4 separate regions of the Homo sapiens genome follow, and all the other regions are linked to region 1. The links are contacts of gene promoters, found by promoter capture Hi-C in blood cells and fetal thymus (Javierre and others, 2016). All regions are on one chromosome and are shown on one strand. Each heading gives the region's core, a stretch centred on a gene start or on the middle of the fragment in contact. The rest is flanking DNA. Distances are from core to core; before and after follow the strand shown.

Region 1 (2,966 bases), core at 1-2,500:
TTGGGAGGCAGAGGCGGATGGATCACCAGGTCAGAAGATCGAGACTATCCTGGCCAACATGGTGAAACCCCGTCTCTACTAAAAATACAAAAAATTAGCCAGGCGTGGTGGGGCGTGCCTGTAATCCCAGCTACTCGTAAGGCTGAGGCAGGAGAATCGCTTGAACCCAGGAGGCGGAGGTTGCAGTGAGCCCAGATTGCGCCACTGCACGCCAGCCTAGAGACAGAGCGAGACTTCTTCTAGAAAAAAAAAAAAAAAAAAAGAAAGAAAGAAAAAAAAAAGAAATCTCGTCGTGAGTTAATAGCTCTGCGCGGAGGGAGGGGATGGAGAGGGGGTCCTTGATCGCCTCCCAACATTACTGAGCTACATCACCTGAGCAGTTTCTACCCCGATTTCTGTAACGAGCAGTTTTTCTCGTTCTGTGCCGGCGCGCGCGCGCACACACACACACACACACACACACACACGGCTCAGATTCGGCCGCACCCGGCAACCGCTAGGGTGCATGGAGACACATTAGGTTACATAACCCTTCACCGTGTTCGAAACCCTTTCTTGATCGTGTGGGTGGCTCTGAAAAGAGCCTTTGGGTTCAGGACGCCGAGGAACGCCTCACTTGGAGCTGGTGTACTTGGTGACAGCCTTGGTGCCCTCGGACACGGCGTGCTTGGCCAGCTCGCCGGGCAGCAGCAGGCGAACGGCCGTCTGCACTTCGCGGGACGTGATGGTGGAGCGCTTGTTGTAGTGTGCCAGGCGGGAGGCCTCGCTGGCGATGCGCTCGAAGATGTCATTGACGAAGGAGTTCATGATGCCCATGGCCTTGGACGAGATGCCGGTGTCGGGGTGCACCTGCTTCAGCACCTTGTACACGTAGATAGAATAGCTCTCCTTGCGGCCGCGCTTGCGCTTCTTGCCGTCCTTCTTCTGTGCCTTGGTGACAGCCTTTTTAGAACCCTTCTTGGGCGCAGGAGCCGATTTGGACGGGTCTGGCATGATGGCTGAGTCTCTCCAAACAGAAACGCGCGGCGCTCGGAGTAACTCTATTTGTACGTTTTGTATTCAAATGAAGGCTCAGGATTTGCTCACTTCTGATTGGATCAAACGTTGTTCTACGTCATCGCTGGGAAAGGAATACGCAAATTAGGAGTGCCAGGTTCTTTTTCTGATTGGCTACCATAGCCATCCAATCGAACGCCGCGGTCTAGCCTACCTCTGTACCATACATAAGGGCTCGCTGGCCTTCACTGCCCTCTTGTTTTTAGTCTCGCTTTTCGGTTGCCGTTGTCTTTTTTCCTTGACTCGGAAATGTCCGGTCGTGGTAAGCAGGGTGGCAAGGCGCGCGCCAAGGCTAAGTCGCGCTCGTCGCGCGCGGGGCTGCAGTTCCCCGTGGGCCGCGTGCACCGGTTGCTCCGCAAGGGCAACTATTCGGAGCGCGTGGGCGCCGGCGCCCCGGTCTATCTGGCCGCGGTGCTCGAGTACTTGACTGCCGAGATCCTGGAGCTTGCCGGCAACGCGGCGCGCGACAACAAGAAGACGCGCATCATCCCGCGCCACCTGCAGCTGGCCATCCGCAACGACGAGGAGCTCAACAAGCTGCTGGGCCGCGTGACCATCGCGCAGGGTGGCGTCCTGCCCAACATCCAGGCCGTACTGCTGCCCAAGAAGACGGAGAGCCACCACAAGGCCAAGGGCAAGTGAGGCCGCCCGCCGCCCCCGGGGCCCCTTTGATGGACATAAAGGCTCTTTTCAGAGCCACCTACTATCTCGAGAAAAGAGCCGCACTGATCCTGCAGTTCTTTATAGGCCGGAGGCCTGATCACCCTAGGCTCATGAATGAGCGCAGTGGCCATGGGGAAGGGCGCAACGGGAACCGAGACCCTGGGGACTGATTGGGCTGCATACTTGCGAGGTGGGCAACGTGTTCTGTTAACAACAGGGAACCCTCGTCCACAGGTGGCCACCCCTTGCTCTTGAGTCCCACCCAAAACCTCTAGTAGGGTTTTAATAACGCTCACCGTAAAGGTGTCTTCATAATTACTAGTGACAAGTTCTCTTGACTCTAGCAAGGTTCCCGTGTGGTCATCAAGTACAGAATGCAATTTCTTAATGATTTATCTGATATTAAAAGTATTTATGATCTCTAAGTAGTTTGCACTTTAATTCTGAAGAGTAAGTCTATGGATTTCTATTTAAATTGCTAAGTTTTAACAATGTGAGCTCCACCAGTGTTAAGATTTAATTTATTTGGCTGGGAATTCTAAAGGTCATGAGGAAAGTTTCAGTACTTAAAAGGAACCAGATTAGTAGATGCTGAAAGGTATAAACCTTTTAAGAAGACTTAATTTGGAATAGGATAATTATTTAAAGGAATTTAGTTTGTTTAATTCGGGTTGGTCAAACATTAATCAAAGATCCCCTTAAATTGATTGCTAAAATTGGAGAACAAAATAATTTGTACACTGTTTTTGAAAAGGAAAACTAAATTTGCGAGTTAAGCAAATTTAAAATGAGTATTGTTAGAACCAGATGAATGATGATACATGTGGACTTTAGGAAAATAACGGTTTGTAACTACATTTTTCCTTATAAAATGGAGGGTTTAAGAGCGTCGGAGACCTCCAGGCAAATTAACTGAAATGGCTGTGTTAATAGCCCCTAAATCCTGGAGGAGAGAGGTTCATTGATTTAATCCACGATAATCCCTTAAAAAATGTTTGCCACAAAATCAGAGCTCAGAAAGTGTTATTCTTCTGTTGTTATCTGTACAGTTTTCATTAATCTATTTCTCAAAATATGGATAATTCCTACTTTGTTTTTATTTTTTCTTTAATCCCCAAAGTGCTAGTATTTAGTTAATTGACACCTAACAATTGCATATTATATGGGGTACATAGTGATACTTTGAATACATTTATTATCAGATCAGGGTAATTAGCAATTATTAAGTATTTATTGTAATAATAAAT
Region 2 (2,700 bases), core at 171-2,670, 510 kb after region 1:
CAGATCCTCGTGGGGGCCATTTTCTGCTGCTCCTATCTTCTTTGTTTTTCCTCTGAGGACCCTCATATTCGCCTCTGTCACTGCCACTGGCGGGATTTCACAGCCTTCCGGGGGCATGTGCTCCGCCCCCCAGGTTCTGCGGTCACTGTGCCAGAATCAGTCCCTGCAGGCACAGAGGGCACTGCCTAGAGACCTGGCACCGCAGCCCAGGTCTCTGAGGCCCCTGCAGCACGTGGCTGGGCAGGCTCGCTGGCCCTGTGTCCTCAGCCTTGGCAGCCTAGCCCGTGTTGGAGGCACCATCCTGCACTGACCAGGGTCTGCAGGTGGCAGGCATGCCACCGCCAGCCTGGACCCCAAGCCCTGTTCTTGTGTCCCTTGTTGCATGGCACAGAGGCCCCATCCAGGGAACTTATAAGCCTTCTCCTGGATGCCACCCCCAGGTCTGTCTGGAATGTGTGCACCTGTATCCTAATGCCAGCTCTGGGTCCTCTGACACCATTCTGCTTCAGAAGCAGCTCCGAATCCGTATCGCAGAGGGGACGAGTCCCCGGGCTGTGACTGAGCGCTTCCAGCTGCCTGGGTGTGCACCTTCCATCCCAGGAGTCCTCTTTCTCCCCGTCCCGGCCAGGACACAGGCTCTGAGAAGGGCGTTGCCCGATGGCTGGTGTTTCATTGACTTAGCCGCTAGCTCCACTCCCACAATTTAAGAATGGGGAGACCATCAGGACCCCAAAAGGTAGAGCTACTCACCTCACAGCCCCAGCAGGCTACGTCGCTTCATTCCCAGGCCGAAAGCGGCCACAGTCCCTGCCAGAAAGGAGCGATTCTCTGGCCCCGCTCCTTGAGGGGGTCAGCATGCGCAAGAGGCGCAGGCATCACCGGCTGGCCCGACTCCTCCTCACCAAGCTTCCCCCGGAGCAGCCGCGCAGCGCCCAGCTCGGGGCAGACGGCTGGGTCCTCTGTGGAACCATCCCCGACCGTCCCGGCCTGGAGCCCCGCCGGCGGCTAGCCCGGCGGCCAACGCCTCCCCTCCCCTCCCCCTCAATCCCGCCCCGGGGGCCGCCCCAAGCTCCCACTGCAGCGCCCCCAACGCTCTACCCGCTTCCCGATGCCCGCCTCCGGCCCCCCAATGCCGTCCCGCCGTGGTCGCCCCGGGTTCTCGCACGCCCCGCCCTCGGTTCCCACCGCTCTCCGCCTCCCCTTCCTCCATCCCCGCCGGGCAGGGCGCGCCCGAGACCCGCGCCGGGAGCGGCGGCCGGGGCCCCGAGTGGCCGGGAGGGGCTGGCGGGCTGGCGCGCGCGGCTCGGGTTTCGGCCCGCCCCCGGCGCCGGCGTGATCCCCTCCCGGGCGCGGGGCGGGGCCGGGCCCAGCTGGCCGCGCTCCGGGCGCTATAAGAGGGCGGCGGCCGCGGCGCGCCCTGCGCGGAGCTGGGAGCGCGATGGTCGGCCGCCGAGGCGCGGCAAGATGCTGGATGGGTCCCCGCTGGCGCGCTGGCTGGCCGCGGCCTTCGGGCTGACGCTGCTGCTCGCCGCGCTGCGCCCTTCGGCCGCCTACTTCGGGTAGGTGCCTTCGGCGGCCGGCGCGCACTGGTGGGCGGGGGCGGCGGGGCCGGGGCGGGGTCGTCCGGAGTCCCCGAGGCACCCGGGGTGGCTGGGGCCGGGGCGCGGCGGGGCCGCCGGGTTGCCTGGCGCTGTTTGTTTGCGGCGCGCGCGTCGCTCCGTCCGCTGCGCGGCACGGCTAGAGAGGCGGGTGGACCCGTCCGGCTTGCGCCGGGCCGCGGTCCTCCGTGACCGCAGAGTCGTCGTCGTCGTAGTCGCCGCCGTGAGCAGGACTGCCTCGCGCTTAGGGACTGGGATCAGGTCCCGACTTCCTTGGGCCGCCGTGTCCTTGCCAAAAGGCTGGAGCCTGAGTCCTCAGCCCCTGGCCATCGCCCACCTAGCAGCTTCCCCCCCTTTCTCTTCTCGAGAAGTTAATTTAACAATAACAAAAATACGTACAAAATCCAGATGTTCCTCGCGCTGAGCCCCAAACGGAGAGAGAGAGAGAAAGAGAGAAATCCTCCAAGCTGGAGGAATTTATTTTTCTTGCGCTTTGCTTCTGACTCTGTGGCCCGGGCCCCGGCCCGCGGGAGCGCGTCCATGGAACCTGGCCGGGAGCGCAGGGCCCGGCCGGGGCGTCCCGCGGTGTCATTGCCCGTGCTCACGTGTCTCTGCAGCAGCGCTTTGCCGGGCTGTCGGCGCGTCTCTCTCTTCCTTTCTTTCCCTTCCTTCTTCCCTCCCCCTCTCTGAGGTCTGGGATGCCCAGTCCTGCGACCTTTACAGGGACCCTCGCTGCGCTTTGGGCGCGCTGAGGTGCAGGGTGGCGCCGTGCGAGGCAGCGCCCCGGGCCTCCCCGCCACCCTCCAGCCTCCTACCCCGAGCGCCGCCGCTGGGAGCCCTGGCTGGCCTTCGGATCCCAGCCCCCGACCTGGACGCCCTGGGCCGCTCCCTCAGCCGGGCCGCCGCCCTCCGCCGGTCACCTGTTCCCGGCCCTCTGGCCTGAGCGCCAGCGCGCGGCGGGCTGGCCGGCAGAGGGCCCCGTTGGTCCAGGAATCTGGCACCCGCCCGGGCAGGGAGAGGCCGCCTGGGCCGAGGAGCCCTGCAGGTGTATCCTGTTCTCAAAGAAAATAAAATATTTTCATGGGAAACTTTCCCTTTGTGT
Region 3 (2,700 bases), core at 51-2,550, 330 kb after region 1:
TTTGAATACAAGATAGAACTAAACCACACAGAATAAAGATTACTCATGGAAGCTGAGAGTGCAATGGACTCAGGTGGGTACTGCATATGGTTCCAGAGGTTGCCGATCTGGGAAAAGCTCCTCCTTTCTGTGTCAACCTGAAATTGTTAGCAGTGGTGAATCTGTATGGGTCTGCACCAACCTGAATTCTTGACACACCAAGGCAAATTTTAGAGCAGGAATGAAAGTTTATTATTAAAAAGTTCTAGAGCAGGAACGAAAGGAAGTAAAGTACACTCGAAAGAGGACCATGAGGGCAACTTGAGAGATTCAAGTGCACGATTTGACCTTTGACTTGGGGTCTTATACATTGGCATGTTTCTGAGATCTTGCATCTCTTCTCCCCTGATTCTTCCCTTAGGGTGGGCGGTCTACATGCTCAGTGGCCTGCCAGCACTTGGGAGGGGCCACATGCACAGTGTGTTTACTGGAGTTGTATGCATGCTCATCTGAGGCATTCTTCCCTTACCAGTTGAGTGTTCCTAGAGGAAGGTCATACACCAGTTAAACTCTGCCATTTTGCCTCTTAGTGCTCATGCTTGACCCCACTCACCCAACTCCTAAGATCTTATTTGGAAGCTGCTGATTAACAGCTTCAGGTGTTATCTATCTATTAGGACACAGCTTTCCCTGGCACCAGCTGCAATCAATTATTTTAAAGCAACAGTTTAGCAACTGCCTGATTATCACCTGGTGATTGTCTGACATTCCTGGTTTGGGGGAGGGCCTCTCCTGCCCTGCTCATGTCTGCCTAACTACCTACAGTATCAAAATGAGCAAGAGAGACCAGTTCTCAAAACAAAGAGTTTACTTGCTAATAGCCAAGGAATTGCAATCTGGGATGCATGTGCTTTTGTGGACCATAAGCATATTTGAGGGGTTGGGGCAAGAGGAAGCTTTTGAAGGCAAAAAAGAGTAAGTGCATGTAAGATATTTTGAAACATAAATTACTGTTCACAGGGGCTTATTGCAGGCAGTGTTTGTTCATTGGTGGTGCTGGCTGTTGCTAGCAGAGGTGTAACTGAACTCAGGTCTGGGCCACTTGTAGCTTGAAAGGCAAAAACTCAAGAGACAAGCTTTGGTGAAAGGAAAGTTAGCTTTATTCAAGAAGCCAGCAACCCAGGGAAGGCAGTGAACTAGGGTTCAAAGATCACCTTTCTGAGTCATGCTTCTAAATCAGGGGTTTTTAAGGGAAATTAGGGAGAATAATGAAAACATTCTTGTGAAACGTGGGCATTCTCAGGTGGGCATTTAATCCTTGCCTTCTTGGTCAATGCTTTGTGGCCTTCTGTGGGTATGGTCAGGCCGGCCAATTCATTCCCAGAGCTGTTGGTTGGCACATTTTAAAAAATCTCTGTTGAAGGTCCTCTTTTTCTGAGGCTGTTTTTAGTGAATAATCTAAAGACTCAAGCAAAGCAATAATTGTATTCAAGCAAGCAAGCTTTCCTCTAACATGGAGTCAGTACTGTTACAGAGGCTCTTCATAGAAGAGCCCCTTCTTCCATGGAAGTGACTTAACTGAAAGTTCTGATAGGGAAAGTCACCTGCTTATGTCACAGCTCTGCACTGGCCCACCCCACTTGCCCCTGCAGTGACTTAGGTCACCACTGTGCAGGCCTGGCTTAAGTCAACCCATGCCACCCCCTTGGGTTGTCAGCCTTAGAAAGACTGGCTTCCTAAAAGAAAACATTTTATTTGAGAATAGCAAAAGATTGCAACCAAAGGTATGCATGTATGATATTGTGAAATATACATATTTAGGCTTTGTCTCCATTTTGGGGGCTCAGAAACAGATATCCCCAAAATATGGCGCTTTGACATGCAGAAATGAAGAAGCTGCAAGGTCTCTCTGACCTTCCCCACCTCATGTCTCCCAATTCTCTGTCTCTCCCAAAGCACAGGATAAAGTTGTTCTCTGAAGCTCCCTTATCTGCCTAAAGAAGGAAACAATTATCTCTGGTCCCTTCCCTGAGTTTTTATTAACTGAATTCATATTGCAGGGAGAAAGTCTGAAGTCAGTCCACCTGGACAGATGTCACAAACCACCGTCTACCCTCTGAGCCCAACAGACTTCGTGGAGGCCATTGTATGTTCTTCAAGCCCATTGAACTCCCCTAAAAATCATTTACTGAGCTCCTAAAATCATTTATGCTTCCCCATCTCCCTTGCCCTTAAGGGCAAGTAACCATCTGTACCCCACTCAGTGGTGGGGTAGTCACTCTGAGATTTTCTCCCATCATATTAATAAATTTGTGTGTCATATATATTCATCGCTGTTTTGTCAGATGATTTTCAGCAAATCTTGAGGGTGAAAGGTCTTTCCTGGCATACAACACCTGAAGTCCTTGAAATCTCTATAAGTAAGTGATTTTTTGTATGCTAATGAGTTGGCTGGTGGCTGGCAGCCCCTAGGTAGCTTCAGAATGGGGCTGGTCACTGAAAAGATCAAGGCAGGATTGGAATTTTCAGCCTCATCCCCACCTCCCCATGTCTGGGGAGGGGAAAGGGACTGAAGGTTAAACTGAGTACCTATGGCCAGTGATTTAGTCAATCATGCCTAAGTAATGAAGCCTCCATAAACACCCCAAAAAGACTAGGTTTGGAGAGCTTGGGTAGCTGAACACGTGGAGGTTCATGGAGGGTGGCTGACCCACAGAAAGC
Region 4 (2,830 bases), core at 164-2,663, 460 kb after region 1:
GCCGGGCGTGGTGGCTCACGCCTGTAATCCCAGCACTTTGGGAGGCCGAGGCGGGTGGATCACGAGGTCAGGAGATCGAGACCATCCTGGCTAACACGGCAAAACCCCGTCTCTACTAAAAATACAAAAATTAGCCGGGCGTAGTGGCGGGCACCTATAGTCCCAGCTACTTGGGAGGCTGAGGCAGGAGAATGGCGTGAACCCGGGAGGTGGAGCTTGCAGTGAGCCGAGATGGCGCCACTGCACTCCAGCCCGGGCGACAGAGCGAGACTCCACCTCAGAAAAAAAAAAAAAAAAAAAGAAAGAGTGTCTTGGTCAGAATCATGCATTGCATTTAGCCGTCATGTCTCTTCAACCTCCTCCAGTGTGGCTTATTGGCCATTTATGTATCTTCTTTGGAAAAATGTCTGTTCAAGTCCTTTGCTGATTTTTAAATTGGTTTTTTGTTGTTGAGTTGTAGGAGTTATTTATATATTCTGGATATTAATCCCATAGCAGATATATAATTTGCAAGTATTTTCTTCCATTTTGTAGGGTGCCTTTTCATTCTGCAGTCAACACTTGCTGTTTTCTATTTTTGTTTTCTTCATAGTGACCATACTAACCGAGGGCATGCCAACCCTTGCATGGTTGAAAATCCATGTATAACTTCTGACTCCCCCAAATTTAACTACAGAAGCCTTGCCAATAACACAAACAGTCAGTTAACACATATTTTGTATATGTATTATATACTGTATTCTTACAATATAGTAAGGAGGAGGAGGAAGAGAGGGCTTGGTCTTGGTGTCTCAGGGGTGGCAGAGGCAGAAGAAAATCTGAGTGTAAGTGACTCATGCAGTTCAGATCCATGTTGTTGAGGGGCCAACTGTATATATCTCATTCATATATATACATAATATATATTACATTTATATATACATATATATATATACACACATCACATTTTTATATATGCGTATATATAACTTTTTTTTTCTTTTTTGAGACAGAGTCTCACTCCGTCGCCCAGGCTGGAGTGCAGCGGTGCAACCTCGGCTCACTGCAACCTCTGCGTCCCAGGTTCAAGCAATTCTCCTGATTCTCCTGCCTCAGCCTCCCAAGTAGCTGGGATTACAGGCACATGCCACCACGCCCAGCTAACTTTTGTATTTTTAGTAGAGAGGGGGTTTCACTATGTTGGCCAGGCTGGTTTCAAACTCCTGACCTCAGGTGATCCACCTGACTCAGCATCCCAAAATGTTGGGATTACAGGCGTGAGCCACTGTGCCCAGCCAACATTTGTATATATGTATATGTCACATTTGTGTATATATATCACATTTGTATATATCACATATCACATTTGTATATATACTATATATCATGTGCGTGTGTATGTGTGTATCCATTCCTATGTCAACTGATATTTAGGTTGCTTCCACCCCTTGGCTACCGTAATTAATGCTGCAATGGACATGGATGTGCAAATATCTCTTCAAAATCCTGTTTTCAGTTCTCTGGATCTATACCCAGAGTGGGATTGAGGGATAATATGGTAATTCTATTTTTATTTATTTATGTATTTATTTATGTTTATTTTTTGAGATAGCATTTCATTCTTGTTGTCCAGGCTGGAGCTCAACAGCATGATTTTGGCTCACTGCAACCTCCGCTTCCCAGGTCCAAGTGATTCTCCTGCCTCAGTCTCCCAAGTAACTGGGATTACAGGAATGCGCCACCATGCCCAGCTAATTTTGTATTTTTTTCTTGTTGTTGTTTTGAGACGGAGTCTCTCTGCGTCGCCCAGGCTGGAGTGCAATGGCGCAATCTCGGCTCACTGCAAACTGCACCTCCCAGGTTCACGCCATTCTCCTGCCTAAGGCTCCTGAGTAGCTGGGACTACAGGCGCCCGCCACCACGCCCGGCTAATTTTTTGTATTTTTAGTAGAGACAGGGTTTCACCGTGTTAGCCAGGATGGTCCCGATCTCCTGACCTCGTGATCCACCCGCCTCGGCCTCCCAAAGTGCTGGGATTACAGGCGTGAGCCACCCTGCCTGGCTCAGTAATTCTATGTTTAATCTTGCAGAAAACCTCCATACTATTTTCTATAGCAACTGTGTCATTTTACGTGCCCACCAACAGTGCATAAAGGTTCCAATTTCTCCACATCTTTGCCAACACTTGATGTTTTCTGTTTTTGTTTTCTTTATAGTGGCCATCCTAAGGAGTGTGAGATGGTATCTCATTGGTCTCGATGTGCATTTCCCTATGATTAGGATGTTGAGCATATTTCCATGTGCCTATTGGCCATTTGTATGTCTTCTTTTGAGAATCATCTATTCAAGTCCTTTGCCCATTTTTTAGTCAAGTTATTTGGTTGTGCTTGTTGTTGAAGAGTTGTAAGAGTTTTTAGATATATTGTTGATATTAATCTTTATCAAAATATATGTGTTACAAGTATTCTCTCCCATTCTTCATGTTGTAAGTTGTCTTCTCTGTTGATTGTCTCCTTTGCTGTGCAGAAGTTTTAAAGTCTGATCTAGTCCCATTTGTCTATTTTTGCCTTTGTTGCCTGTGTTTTTGGTGTCATATTCAAGAAACCATTGCAAAATCCAATGTCAAATTTTCTACATTTTCTTCTGAAATTTTATAGATTCAGGTCTTAAGTTTAGGTCTCTAATCCATTTTGAGTTAATTTTTGTTTATGGTGTAAACTTAGAGTCCAACTTCATTCTTTTGCATGTGCATCTCCATTTTTCCCAACACCATTTATCGAAGAGTGCATTGTTTCTCTAGTGTATGGATTTGACAGTCTTGTTGGAGATCATTTGGCTGTGTACATGAGAG

Evidence for each region. Contacts are between HindIII fragments. The CHiCAGO score rates a contact against its expected background, and 5 or more counts as called.
Region 2: the fragment with the promoter of WNT9A here is called in contact with the fragment with the promoter of H2AC25 in region 1 in 1 of 17 cell types (total B cells); the score reaches 5.0 in total B cells.
Region 3: a contact is called between a fragment that was not itself captured here and the fragment with the promoter of H2AC25 in region 1, in 11 of 17 cell types (total CD8 T cells, naive CD8 T cells, naive B cells and 8 more). The highest score is 8.7, in total CD8 T cells.
Region 4: a contact is called between a fragment that was not itself captured here and the fragment with the promoter of H2AC25 in region 1, in 2 of 17 cell types (M2 macrophages and neutrophils). The highest score is 10.3, in M2 macrophages.

Annotation. Positions count from the first base shown.
Region 1 is chr1:228,456,157-228,459,122 of GRCh38, reverse strand. H2AC25 (H2A clustered histone 25) reads left to right here and starts at 1,250. Exons shown (of 1, transcript NM_033445.3): 1 at 1,250-1,759. The coding sequence starts at 1,306. The coding sequence ends at 1,698. It overlaps H2BC26 (H2B clustered histone 26), which reads right to left and starts at 1,020. Exons shown (of 1, transcript NM_175055.3): 1 at 565-1,020. The coding sequence starts at 993. The coding sequence ends at 613. RefSeq lists enhancers at 1-540, 541-1,127. The HindIII fragment of the contact is 12,626 bases long and covers 1-2,966 here.
Region 2 is chr1:227,946,652-227,949,351 of GRCh38, reverse strand. It overlaps WNT9A (Wnt family member 9A), which reads left to right and starts at 1,420. Exons shown (of 4, transcript NM_003395.4): 1 at 1,420-1,559. The coding sequence starts at 1,465. It overlaps LOC124904533 (a long non-coding RNA gene), which reads right to left. Exons shown (of 2, transcript XR_007066912.1): 2 at 2,049-2,650. RefSeq lists silencers at 1,306-1,385, 2,489-2,598 and an enhancer at 1,466-1,515. The HindIII fragment of the contact is 8,120 bases long and covers 909-2,700 here.
Region 3 is chr1:228,122,194-228,124,893 of GRCh38, reverse strand. No RefSeq gene overlaps it. Among named protein-coding and RNA genes, the nearest start is that of MRPL55, 14 kb to the right of the region's middle. The HindIII fragment of the contact is 365 bases long and covers 1,118-1,482 here.
Region 4 is chr1:227,991,501-227,994,330 of GRCh38, reverse strand. No RefSeq gene overlaps it. Among named protein-coding and RNA genes, the nearest start is that of WNT3A, 14 kb to the left of the region's middle. The HindIII fragment of the contact is 7,402 bases long and covers 1-2,830 here.